2 separate regions of the Homo sapiens genome follow, and region 2 is linked to region 1. The links are contacts of gene promoters, found by promoter capture Hi-C in human tissues and cell types (Jung and others, 2019). All regions are on one chromosome and are shown on one strand. Each heading gives the region's core, a stretch centred on a gene start or on the middle of the fragment in contact. The rest is flanking DNA. Distances are from core to core; before and after follow the strand shown. Region 1 holds the start of LMTK2 (lemur tyrosine kinase 2). Region 2 has its middle 57 kb from the start of LMTK2.

Region 1 (6,594 bases), core at 2,965-5,464:
TTGCAGCAATCCCAACCAAAATCAAATTTCAAGATTTATAGCTATAAATCCTAAAATAATTTGCATAGAAAGCCTGTTGAAAATAATTTTCCCAGAGGCTGTTAAACACAGTAATTCATACTTTAGAAAGCATTTCCTTTACTTTAGAAATCTTTTTCAAAATACAAGTCTGTTTGTTTAATCTAAAACGAGAGGCTCGGTTTCACAAGCTGCTGTTTAATCAGTAGCTGAGTCCCACTGGCTTCACGGGCTTCCGTGAGGTCCTTTATCTGGAGCTGCTAAAAGCTTCCTCTGTACTCTGTGACCTAATATGCTGCAGAACAATAGAACTGGGTTTCCTTGTCTCACCACTATCCTAATATTAATAAGAAAGTGTGAGCTTAGAGAAATTCGTTCACATATACAAGATCTTTCTTTATTTCTAGTCCCCGTTTATGATGTGAATCCTGAGAATCTTAGAAAAGGCGCATCCATGTTTTCTAAGAGAAGAATGATCTGATAACTATGATCTGGGGAAAAGAACTGAACTGTAATCTTAGTTTGGCAATTTAACTGGGTGTGAAAACAGTGAACTTTCTCCCTTTACATAAAAGCTTCCTAGAGAGGACCAACAAGTCTTAGTCTACATAACAACAAGGGCCCTTACAGAAACACAGATTCTCAGGAAAAGAGGCTCCTAGACGGGGCGGGCGTAGGGGGCAAAACGGCATCCCAGCTCAAAGAAGAGGCCCAAAATAAAGTTCAACCAAGAAATGCCTTCTTGCCTGATGGGCAAGTGCAATCTATATATTTACATAGCTTTATTATGACTGAATAAGAAAATATCTTTTTCAGCTTCTGAGTCTAGCAATGAATCTAGATGATGAAGACACCATAGATAAATGATCTTCAGTTTAAAAGCTGAATTTCAGTTAACTGCATGCTTTCTCTAAGGCACCATTAAACTGGATAGACTGATCAGGCTTCAAGCAGAAAGAAGAACAAGGAGGCGAAAGACCCTATGAAATGGGTCTATCCTTATTTGAAAGTGTCTAGCTCTATCTTCACAAGGAGTGCAGGCTCCTAGATTACCAGAAGCTTTAGTTAGGTTTTTGGCGTGTAACTGCTCTTTTATCTACCATACATGGTCAAGCGGGATTCCTCTTTTTTAACCAGCGAGCTCACTAGTCAGGATTAGCTTAAAGGTTTTTTTTTAAACTTGGTCTAATATATCTTGGTCAAGAACCCACCTCAGCTAACGAGGATCAATAAACTCTTTTGGATGGAGAGACAAGCCCCTGAATATCTATGTCTGATTGTGCATCTTCCTTTCTTTTTTTTTTTTTTTTTTTTGAGACGGAGTCTCACTCTGTTGCCCAGGCTATGATGCAGTGGCACAATCTCGGCTCACTGTAAGCTCCGCTCCCTGGGTGCAAGCAATTTTCCTGCCTCAGCCTCCCAAATAGTTGGGATTACAGGCTCCCACCACCACGCACGGCTAATTTTTGTATATTTAGTAGAGAGGGAATTTCACCATGTTGGTCAGGCTGGTCTCGAACTCCTGACCTCAAGCAATCCACCCACCTGGGCCTCCCAAAGTGCTGGGATTACAGGTGTGATCCACTGCTCCCGGCCTGACTGTGCGTCTTTTCCACAGACTTTAACCCTAGGTACCCATTATTCATATGCAACACGTCAAAACATATACACCTATCCTACAAAGATCAGAATATGAAAGGAAAATTTGTAGCAAAAGTTGCTACAAATTACCAAATATTTCCTTATGCTATATGTATGTCAAGATTTGATATCTCTATTTACAGATTAACTTTTCTGATTGCTTTGTTCTACAACACCCCAACAAAATTCATTTTATAATTCATGACACCATAAAATTGTAAAAGAATGGAATAAAAACCGTGTAAGAAGTGTACAGGTGGCCAGGCGCGGTGGCTCACGCCTGTAATCCCAGCACTTTGGGAGGCTGAGGCGGGTGAATCACGAGGTCAGGAGTTCAAGACCGGCCTGGCCAAGATGATGAAACCCGTCTCTACTAAAAATACAAAAATTAGCCGGACATGGTGGCAGGGGCCTGTAGTCCCAGCTACACAGGAGGCTGAGGCAGAGAACTGCTTGAACTCGGAAGGGGGGGGTTGCAGTCAGCTGATATCGCACCGATGATGCACTCCAGCCTGGGTGACAGAGCAAGACTCCGTCTCAAAAAAAAAAAAAAAAAAAAAGTGTGCAGGCAGACATAGGTTCCTATAAAGAATCGATACTTCAAAATATATAAAAATCCAATTAAGTGTAAAGTCATCTGGAAATTTCTTGAATCCCCATCATATAAATACTCTTTACCTACTACACTATACTAGTGCTAACTTTCAATATCAATATCTTTAAATATCAACATCACCATCCTTCCACATAATCTTTCATTATTTCCCAGGCATTTCCTGTGACTCTTTCCGGGGTTGCCTATACACATCTGATAACATTTACTCTTCTTATCTATCGGATCAGAAAACAGAATTCACCTCACAAGTATTTGATCTAAGGCAGTAACAGAAATTTAGTGCTACATTATACGGTACAATGAGGACATTTAACGTTCAACTAAAGGGCACTCAATGACAAACCCTGATGTAGCTCTGGAAGCAATTACATGTAGCTTTCATCGTAGATTTGTTTGAAAAATATGTCTTTACTGGAGACAGTACATCCACATTCTGTACCCAATTAACATTATTCCAAAATAACTCTTGACCTCGAGAGTATTCCAAAACAGTTACAAGACTTAAAAAAAATCATACAACTAGGGGTATCTAAGACCTGGCTTTGGGGCTCTGCCTACAACGAAGCTGTGTCACCCTGGGTAGGTCATTTGACCCAACATGCCCAGTATCTCCTACTACGTAAAGAAGAAATTGGTCTAAATTTTCTTTAAGGTCTCTTCTAACTCTAACATTCTATGAATGTATGAAATTTCAATCTTTCCCCATTTCAAAGGTAATGGCGGCAGTCAATAACGCCAAGTTAGCCTAGATTTTTTTTTCCTTTTTAGAAAAATGACCCAACTTGGGATGTTTTCTTGGGTTGAAGTTTTATTTAGGAAAATAAACCCCAAATAAAAACGATGTTGAGAAAATGGGCGGGGGGGGAGAAAAGAAAATCATACACTGACGTTAGCTAAAATAGAAACTTCCATCACCCTTAAGCCAGTTTGTCAATAGTTATTCAACGCCTGCTACTCTAATCACTGGCTTCCTAAAATAGAAATATTTATAGTTGTTTCCTTCTCATCCCCGGAGATACATTCCGAATAAAAAGCACAGCGTCTAAAATCAATTTACAACTTCAGAATAAGTTGCAAGGAGCGAAAACAAACTCCGCACAGCTCGCCAAGTCATTTGCATTTAAGTATGATTAGGGCTAAGAAACGGTTCTTATGAGATGCGAAAAAAAAGCACAAGAGGCAGGTGACATCTGGAAAGGGAAGCTGAACTGCCAGGAAGCGATATAAGCTGAGGATCTTAAGGCAACAGGTCCAGGGCCGGCACCGCAGCCTATCCCGGGAGGGGTCGGTGGCTGCTACCTCGCCCGCCGCCCTCCCCAGCCCCAACGACGTCGCCTCGCTCCCGCCCCCCCAAATCCCACGCCCCTGCGGCAGAAATCTCCCTAATCACTCGCCTCCCTGGGCTTCCCGCCCCCGGCAGGCCCTCCGATTCCTCGGCGCCGAGGCCGGCCCGGCCCTGCCGCCCCCTCCCCTCCACGCCGAAGACCCCGCAGCCCCGTCCCCGCCGCGGGCCCGCTCACCTGCACCTGTTTGCGGAAGTGGCGCGGCCCCAGCACTGCCGGCGATCAGGAGGACCAGCAGCAGCAGCAGCAGCCTCCGCCGCAACGCCGGCGGCCCCGGCATCTCGCCCACGGCGCGGCTCCGGGGCCGGCCCTCGAGTCGCCTTCCGTCCGTCCGTCCGTTCGCCCGTCAGTCGATCCTGCCTCCCTCCGCTGCCTCAGTGGCACCCGCGCCGGTTGCTCCCGAGCACACGTTGCTTCTGCCAAACCTCGGTCCGGCTCCCGGTCCGCACCTGCCGCTCCAGTCGCAGAAACACCATCCTTCCCGCCCGCCTGCGCCGCCGCCGCCGCCTCTCAACAGCAGCAACGCCAGCAGCCCTGCGGAGCGGCGGGCCTGGGAAGCCGCGCTCCCGCCGCCATGATGGGCTGCGTCATGTGACGTAGCGCGGGGGCGGGATGTCGTGATGGACAGGGCGGCCAGCCACTCGTCAGTCCACACCGGCCCAGGAGGCCCCGCCCATCATCCTGAAGGAGTGAGCGGTGGCGGCCGGTGCGCCCCCTGCAGACGGAGGAGTGCGTGGGCAGCAGGTAACACCAACAATTATTTTAAATTGAAAAATACAGGAAAATGTAAAGAAGACCATGACAATCATCCTGATATTTTTTTCTCGGTGTTTTATAACATGCAAAAATAGGCCTGTCTTGTCTTCTGCCTTTTTTTTTTTTTTACTTGTCAGAGCTGTTTTAGGCTCTTCTCCTTAAGTTGACCTACACATCCTCTCAGCCATCAAACAGCTTTGGGCTTTTCACTTGAATTGATCAAGAGAATGCCTCTCTCGGCATCACCCACTGACTCACCTCCTGAGCTCAAGCTGTTGCCTCTTGTCCACCTGGCAGACACTCTTCCTTTCATCTGTCGAGACTCACCTGACATATGACTTCATCTATGACTCTCTAGGAGAAATGACTGTCATCTCCTTAGTGCCCCGCCCTGGCCCTGTGTGGACTGCTATCCTAGCTGCAGTATCCTATTGACCCGTGACTGTAAGCTCCCTGAGGACAGCAACTGTGTCTGATTCAGCTGGTGGGAAATCCCTGGTGCAGGACCTGGGTCGGAGCAGGTGTTCTCTAAAGCAATGGTGCATGGCCCTGGTCCCAGGTACCAGGGCAGAGCAGCTCCCAGGGGTGGCCTTCTCCCCACCAAGAGGTGAGGTGAGAACACAGTCCTGCAGAGAGGATAGAGAAAGCACTCTCCAGACACAAGTAATATAGTGGTCAGAGGCATGGGGGTTGGGAAAATGCTAAGCTTTTCTGGAGAGGCGCTATGGTTCAGTGTGTGCATGAGAGGAGCTGATTTCAATCTTATCAGATGAGACTTTGCCACCTGGCAACAGTGTAACCTCCCCAATTCTCCAAACTCCCCAAATGTCCATCCTAAATGCCAGCTGTCGATGATGTTAACACAGCACTGGACACACAGATGATGCCCAGGGAATATTTGTTGGATGATTGAGGCAAGCCAATAAATATCTAAGGAGACAAATACCTGGAACGAGAAACATTGAATTTAAAAGTCCATGGCTTGGCTGGGCACGGTGGCTCACACCTGTAATCTCAGCACTTTGGGAGGCCAAGGTGGGTGAATCACTTCAGACCAGGAGTTCAAGACCAGCCTGGCCAACATGGTCATACCCCATCTCTACTAAAAATACAAAAAGTATTAGCCAGACACGGTGACGCATGCCTGTAATCCCAGCTGCTTGGGAGGCTGAGGCAGGAAAATTGCTCGAACCCAGGAGGCGGAGGTTGCGGTGAGCTGAGATCACACCGCTGCACTCCAGCCTGGGCGACACAGCGAGACTCTGTCTTAAAAAAAAAAAAGTTCACGGCTTTCTGCTGATTATATGCAGAATTGGTAAGGAAGGCAAAGGTCTAGGAAAGAGACACAATCACCCTGTTGTACTTCTACTTCTTTTTTTTTTTTCTTTGAGACAGAGTCTGTCTCTGTCACCAGGCTAGAATGCAGTGGTGCGATCTCAGCTCACTGCAACCTCTGCCTCCTGGGTTCAAGCGATTCTCCTGCCTCAGCCTCCTGAGTAGCTGGGACTACAGGTGCCCGCCACCACACCTGGCTAATTTTTGTATTTTCAGTAGAGACAGGATTTCACCATGTTGGCCAGGATGGTCTCGATCTCTTGACCTCGTGATCTGCCCACTCCGGCCTCCCAAAGTGCTGGGGTTACAGGCATGAGCCACCGCGCCTAGCCTATACTTCTACTTCTATCAGGAAGCTTCTCACTTTGAGTTCAGAGAAGCCAGGGACACCCACACTGTGTACTGCAAGGAGGCTCGTGACTGCCTGCTGTAGTGCTGGCCTAAGGAAGGCCTTACCTGATAATCCTGGTAGTGGTTATTTACAACTAAAGTGCACTCCAACAGCACGTTGGACCACAATCCCAAAGTAGATTTTGCTATTATTTGAGCAAGCCCAAAAGTTAAAACAAACAAACAAATAAACAAACTTCTTTTCCTCTTTCACAGAACAGGGGTTACAGTGCACATCCCCCAGATGATGTCTAAAGGCAGCCTTTGCCCCACCACCCACCTCACCGTGTATGCCTTTACTCAATACTTGAAGACTTCCAGTTAGAGATGTTATTAAACAAACAAAAACCTGTTGGCTTTGTTTAGTTTCACCCAGAAGTCAGAAAACAGCCTTTAGCACAATTTGGAAATCAATACCTAAGATTAGAAGCAATATCTTTCAGTGTTTTACAGCCATTCTTTTTTTTTTTTCTTTTTTGAAACAGGGTCTCGCTC
Region 2 (6,594 bases), core at 2,826-5,325, 58 kb after region 1:
TATAAGGAAAATGCTCGTGCTATGTTAAATTTTTTTAAAATTATGTTGCAGAATGTTATAATTATACCACACTATACTTTGCTGCTGTGCTTGAAGAAGGGGGTGTGGTTCCACTGACGTTTTACTGGGTATTCAGCACTGTGCTAAGCATTTTACATGCATTTGACCATTTCCCCAGCTGGGTGAGGTGGCTCACACCTGTAATCCCAGTACTTTGAGGGAACAAGTCTGGAGGATCACTTGAGCTCAGAAGTTCAAGACCAGCTTGGGCAACATAGAGAGACCGTCTTTACAAAAAATAAAAATAAAAAATTTTTGGTGGTGCGCACCTGTGGTCCCAGGTACTCAAGGAGGCTGAGGGAGAAAGATCTCTTGAGCCTAGGAGGTCAAGGCTGCAGTGAGCCGTGTTTGCCTCACTGCCTGGGTGACAGCAAGGCCTTGTGTCCAAAAAAAAAAAAAAAAAAAAAAGAAGAAGAATATGCGGTAGATACTGTTAGTATTATTCCCATATTACAAGTCAGAAGACTGAGGTGTAGAAAAATTAATTCATTTGCCAAAGGTGGCAGGTAAGCAAAGAAGCTGCAATTGTAACTCATGTCTACTCGTTTCCAGAGCCCTGGCAGAAGATTCCTTTGAGGCTATGAATTTCCAATGTTGCAAGACGCCAGCTCTCAAAGTGAATGGGAAAGGAAAGGGGTTACTGGAAGGATACGGAGATCTAAATGTTAGCTGTGGGCCGGGCGCTTTGGGAGGCTGAAGCAGGTGGATCACTTGAGCACAGGAGTTTGACACCAGCCTGAGCAACATGGCAAAATCCTGTCTACCAAAAATACAAAAATTAGCAGGGCATGGTGGCACACGCCTGTAATCCCAGCTACTTGGGAGGCTGAGGCAGGAGGATCTCTTGAACCCGGGAAACAGAGGTTGCAGTGAGCTGAGAGCATGCCACTGGACTTCAGCCTGGGCAACAGAGTGAGACACTGTCTCAGAAAAAAAAAAATGTTAGCTGTGGTTATCCGTGGGTGGTGAGATGATTTCCCAGATTTCCTACAGATTCATGTGACTTTTAGAGTAAGATCAATTTATAAAACATTTTATAAAAGGGTGGGCGTGTAGCTAGATAGACGTCCACACGGGCAGGTTATGAAGCTCTCTCCTCTCTTGGAGTCCCCAAGTGACTTGTCCCTGCGGAATCTGGAGGTCCCCACACAGACACACACCCATAATAAATGCGACAAGCAGTGCGTGACACCAGGCAGTGCCCGGCAAGCCTTTGATGGCTAATGGCTGTAGGTGAAGTTTCTGAAATGACTTGCTCTTGTCCTAGGGTGGCAGATGCAGTTACAAGGGACCCAGTGGGACAGGACAACGCTGTTCTTTATATTCAAGAAGTGCCCCCTTTGATTCATAGCTGGGGACCCCTCGCCGAGCGGGCCATCAGAGAGGCCACCGGTGGCGCCCCGGAGCTCGTCGTGGCGACTGGTCCAGCCTTGCGAAGGAGACCTGGTTACCATGGATACAGCAGGGCGGGGGCGGAGCCAAACCGGATCCCGGAAGTGGGTAATTAGTCTCATCTTCCCGCCACCTGCCTGCTTCCCCACCTCACACCCCATGGCTTCCAATCCTGTCGCTTTCCCCCTACCCCCTGCAGGCTTAGGTTTTCCTTGTCTTTAAAAGGCAGGAACTGGGGAGGAGTGGGTTGGCAAACAAAAAGAGAAATTTGGCAGCCCTACTTTAAAAAAAAAATTGTGGAATTGTTCAAACCTACAGAAAACTATAGGGAGTAAAATAAACACTCATGTACCCTCCACCTAGAATTAATATATGTTCACGTTTTTGCTTGGAGGTGTTTCTGATTTTGATCTTAAGAAACCCCCTTTTCGGGCCGGGCACAATGGCTCATGCCTGTAATCCCTGCACTTTGGGAGGCCAAGGCAGGCAGATCTCTTGAGGTCAGGAGTTCAAGACCAGCCTGGCCAAAAAGGTGAAACCCTGTCTCTATTAAAAATACAAAAATTAGCCGGCCGTGGTGGTGGATGCCTGTAATCCCAGCTACTCAGGAGGCTGAGGCACAAGAAACGCTTGAATCTGGGAGGTGGAGGTTACAGTGAGCCGATATCGCACCATTGCACTCCAGCCCGGGCGACAAGAGCAAGACCCTGTCTCAAAAAAAAAAAAAAAAAATTGGCGTTACACAATGTAAAGATGAATGGTAAATTCATGCTAATAATTTAGATTTCTGAGTTTTCTTTACTTAGAATGATAGTAGGGAGCAAATAAAAAATATTGTGACAAGTCAATAGAGAGACTGCAGAAAAAAGAAAAAAGCTTTATATGTTATTCATTTGTTTTGTTTTGTTTTGTTTTGTTTTTTTGAGACAGAGTCTCACTCTGTCGCCCAGGCTGGAGTGCAGTGGCATGATCTCAGCTCACTGCAACCTCCGTCTCCCAGGTTCAACCAATTCTCCTGCCTCAGCCTCCCGAGCAGCCAGGACTACAGGTGCGTGCCACCACGTCTGGCTAATTTTTGTATTTTTAGTAGAGATGGGGTTTCACAATGCTGGCCAGTCTGGTCCTGAACTCCTAACCTCAGGTGATCTACCTGTCTCAGCCTCCCAAAGTGCTGGGATTACAGGTGTGAGCCACCACACCCAGACACCATTTTGTTATGATTGAGTTTTAACAGTTCTTTGTATATTTGGAATACAAATCCTCTATCTGATATATGTTTTGCAAATATTTTCTCAGAGTCTTTGGCTTGTGTTTCCTTCTCTTAACCCTGGGTCATTTTGGAAAATCAGGGTAAAAATGGGTTAGGCCCACCAGTTAGGATGAGGGGAAGATAAACCAGTGATCTCAGGGGAATAGTCTGGACTGGAGAGGACTGGCTGGTAAAATTGGCCTCCAAAAAAACATGCCTGGCCCTTTTATCACATGGGAAAATATTGGGCTTCTTTTCCATTTCCAAGTCTTCTGGGTCTTTGGGGGTGAGGACTCTGCTACAGGGCCGGTTCCATAATTTGTGGAGTCCAGTGCAAAATGTAAATGCAGGCCTCTTGTTCAAAAAGCAGGAAAAATGTGCTGTTCAAAATACTAGGCTGGGTGCAGTAGCTCATGTCTGTAATCCCAGCACTTTGGGAGGCTGAGGCAGGAGCATCTCTTGAACTCAGGAGTTCAAGACCAGCCTGGGCAACATAGCAAGATCCCATCTTTAATTAAAAACAAACAAACAGGCCAGGCAAGGACCCAGACAATTGTGGGTTGTATTTTTAGTAGAGACAGGGTTTTGCCATGTTGGCCAGGCTGGTCTTGAACTCCTGACCTCAAGTGATCTGCCCGCCTCAGCCTCCCAAAGTGCTGGGATTACAGGTGTGAGCCACTGCGCCCGGCCCCAGGAATAGGTTTGATCCTCAGCTCCTGACCAAATCTAGGCTGCGGCTCAGCGCCCCATCCCATCCTGCCTATTCCCCGTCTTGCGAGTGCAGGACACCGATGGAGAAATCCCAGGGTAACTTAGCAAATAGGTGATCTGCCAAGGAAGGGAACAGGCAGGCCAGGGCAGTCCTAGCCACACTAGGAGGGGCAGAGCCCAGTCAACACCTGCTTAGGCTCAGGAGTGAGTAACTGGCCAGGAATGCAGGTTGCCAGAGGGCTCAGCTGCTATGAGATGCCAAAATCTTTCTCGCGGATGTTAATTTCCACCGTCTCAGGAAGTGGCTGCTGTTTTCACACTAACTCTGCCGCAGCCAGGGGGCTTTTCTAAGCCTCTCCATCTCACACTACACTGAAATCTCTTCAGACCAAATTAAAGCATCAAGGATCCACTTGTGAGATTTGAGATGGGTTCCCCCAAAGTGGTGAACCCCATTGGAGTCGCAATGAGAGCTGTTGTGTCTTGAGGCTCACTGACTCTTTGGGGGAAAAAGTCCTGATCTGTAGCAGTTGCTAATTTCCACAGTGTAAATACTCTCACGGTGGCCAATTTCAAGTAGATAACAAGTCGGACAAGAATCAGGCACAGGTTCTTTGTCAGAAGTTAGAGGGGAAGAGAGTGAACGTGGGGGAAAAGAGAGAGACTTTGGGGACAGACTTAGAGACTCAAGTTTGCGTCCAAACTCTCCCACCTGCCAGCTCAGACAACTCGTTTCTTCCTCCAAAGGCTTAGCTTTCTCCTATAGAAAACAGGGGCACTTGGCCGGGCATGGTGGCTCACACCTGTCATCCCAGCACTTTGGGAGGCCAAGGCGGGCAGATACTTGAGTTCAGGAGTTCAAGAGCAGCCTGGCCAACATGGCAAAACTCCGTCTCTACTAATAATACAAAAATTAGCCAGGTGCAGTGGCTCACACCTGTAATCCCAGCACTTTGGGAAGCTGAGGTGGGCAGATCACTTGAGGCCAGGAGTTCAAGACCAGCCTGGCCAACATGATGAAACCCCATCTCTACTAATAATACAAAAATTAGCCGGGTGTGGTGGCACGCAGCTGTAATCCCAGCTACTCAGAAGGCTGAGGCAGGAGAATCGCTTGAATATGGGAGGCAGAGGCTGCAGTGAGCCAAGATTGCACTCCAGCCTGGGTGACAAAGCGAGACCCTGTCTCAAAAAGAAAACAGGGACACTAACAATGCCTACTTCGTTGGATTACTATGGGCATGAAATTTGGGGCAGTTGCAATAGCAGTTGGCAACTGACCACCTCATATCTATTTCTTCTTCTTAACACTATCCTGGCTGGGTGCAGTGATTCATGCCTGTAATCCCAGCACTCTGGGAGGCTGAAGTGGGAGGACTGCTGGAGGCCAGGAATTCAAGACCAGCTTGGACAGCATAGCAAGACCCCATCTCTGCAAAAAATTTAAAAACTATGTTCACACCACTGCACTCCAGAGCCCAGGTAACACAGCATGACCCTGTCTAATATATATATGACATACTATGTATATACACATATATATTTATATATATGACATATTATATATACATATGTGTATGTCTATTTATATATGTGTGTATATAAATATATACATATATAATATGCCTTATATATAACATATATAATATGCCTTATATATAACATATATAAGATATATAAAACATATATGTCTAATATATATAATATGTGTGTATATAAATTTTTTTTTTTTTGAGACAGAGTTTCGCTCTTGTTGCCCAGGCTGGAGAGCAATGGCACGATCTCGACTCACCACAACCTCTGCCTCCCAGGTTCAAGCGATTCTCCTGCCTCAGCCTCCCAAGTAGCTGGGATTGCAGGCATGCGCCACCACGCCTGGCTAGTTTTGTATTTTTAGTAGAGATGGGCTTTCTCCATGTTGGTCAGGCTGGTCTCAAACTCCTGACCTCAGGTGATCCACCCACCTCAGCCTCCCAAAGTGCTGGGATTACAGGTGTGAGCCACCGTGCCTGGCTCTTTATATAAATTTTTTAAAAAACAAATACCCCAACTTTTCTGAAGATATTTACCCAAAGGTATCAGTCCAATGTGTTTGAGGAAAGCACCCTCCTCCTTCTCACTCTCATGACCCCTCCATACCAGGAGAGGAACATGTGGTCAAGGACTAAGCTCACTGGGACATCACGTTTTCTGGCAACAATGATTGGTTCAGAGACAGCCTGTGACCTCAGAGGGTCCAACTGGGGCAAAGCCTTGGATTTGTTTGGCGGTCAAGGGCACTCTCCTTCTTGCTGGCTGAAGACCCAGGAGAGTATAGCTTTGTGAACTGCTTGCTGCATTTGTCTGTGATCACAAAAAAAAAAAAAAGCATTTTTTTTTTTTGGCCAGAATCCTGGGATGCAGAGCTGAGACGTGGATGGTGGTAAAGTTGCGTGTATGTTTCACCAAGCCCTACCTGAAGCCAAAATGACTGCTGTGTGTTCACAGGCTTTCACGGATATGGTTCCGGGATTCTATTTATGGTAGTGATAGACAGTTTATTTTTAAAATAAATACATGTACGTTTGAAATGTGAGTCACTATAGTTTCTCTTTCTGCAATACATTTTCTTTCTGTGGAAATTTGATAATGTTTTCTGTCACTAGTAACAAAAGGTTCTTCCTGTATTGGTTTTCTCCTGTGTATTAGAGGGCTGCCATCACTCAATACCACAGACTGGGTGGCTTAAACAAAAGAAATGGACTTTCTCACAGCTCTGGAGGCTGGAAGTCCAAGAGCAAGGTGTAGACAGGCTCAGTTTCTCCCGAGGCCTGTCTCCCTGGCTTACAGATGGTCATCTTGTCACTGTGTCTTCAAATGACATTGCCTCTGCACGCAAACATCATGGTGTGCCCCTGTGTGTCCCTCAGTCCTCCTCTTCTTTTTTTTTTTTGAAATGGAGTCTCACACTGTCACCTGGGCTGGAGTGCAGTGATGCGATCTCGGCTCACTGCAACCTCCACCTCACGGGTTCAAGTGATTCTCCTGCCTTGGCCTCCCAAGTAGCTGGGATTACAGGCACGCATCACTACACCCAGCTAATTTTTTGTATTTTTAGTAGAGATGGGGTTTCACTATGTTGGCCAGGCTGGTCTCGAACTCCTGATCTCATAATCTGCCCACCTCAGCCTCCCAAAGTGCTG

The links. Contacts are between HindIII fragments. The study calls those that stand out against the background at their distance.
Region 2: a fragment that was not itself captured here is called in contact with the fragment with the promoter of LMTK2 in region 1 in 2 of the 25 tissues and cell types used here (H1 embryonic stem cells and thymus).

Annotation. Positions count from the first base shown.
Region 1 is chr7:98,104,482-98,111,075 of GRCh38, reverse strand. LMTK2 (lemur tyrosine kinase 2) reads right to left here and starts at 4,214. Exons shown (of 14, transcript NM_014916.4): 1 at 3,796-4,214. The coding sequence starts at 3,898. The HindIII fragment of the contact is 4,738 bases long and covers 836-5,573 here.
Region 2 is chr7:98,046,253-98,052,846 of GRCh38, reverse strand. No RefSeq gene overlaps it. Among named protein-coding and RNA genes, the nearest start is that of LMTK2, 57 kb to the left of the region's middle. RefSeq lists enhancers at 3,542-4,042, 4,043-4,543. The HindIII fragment of the contact is 8,139 bases long and covers 6-6,594 here.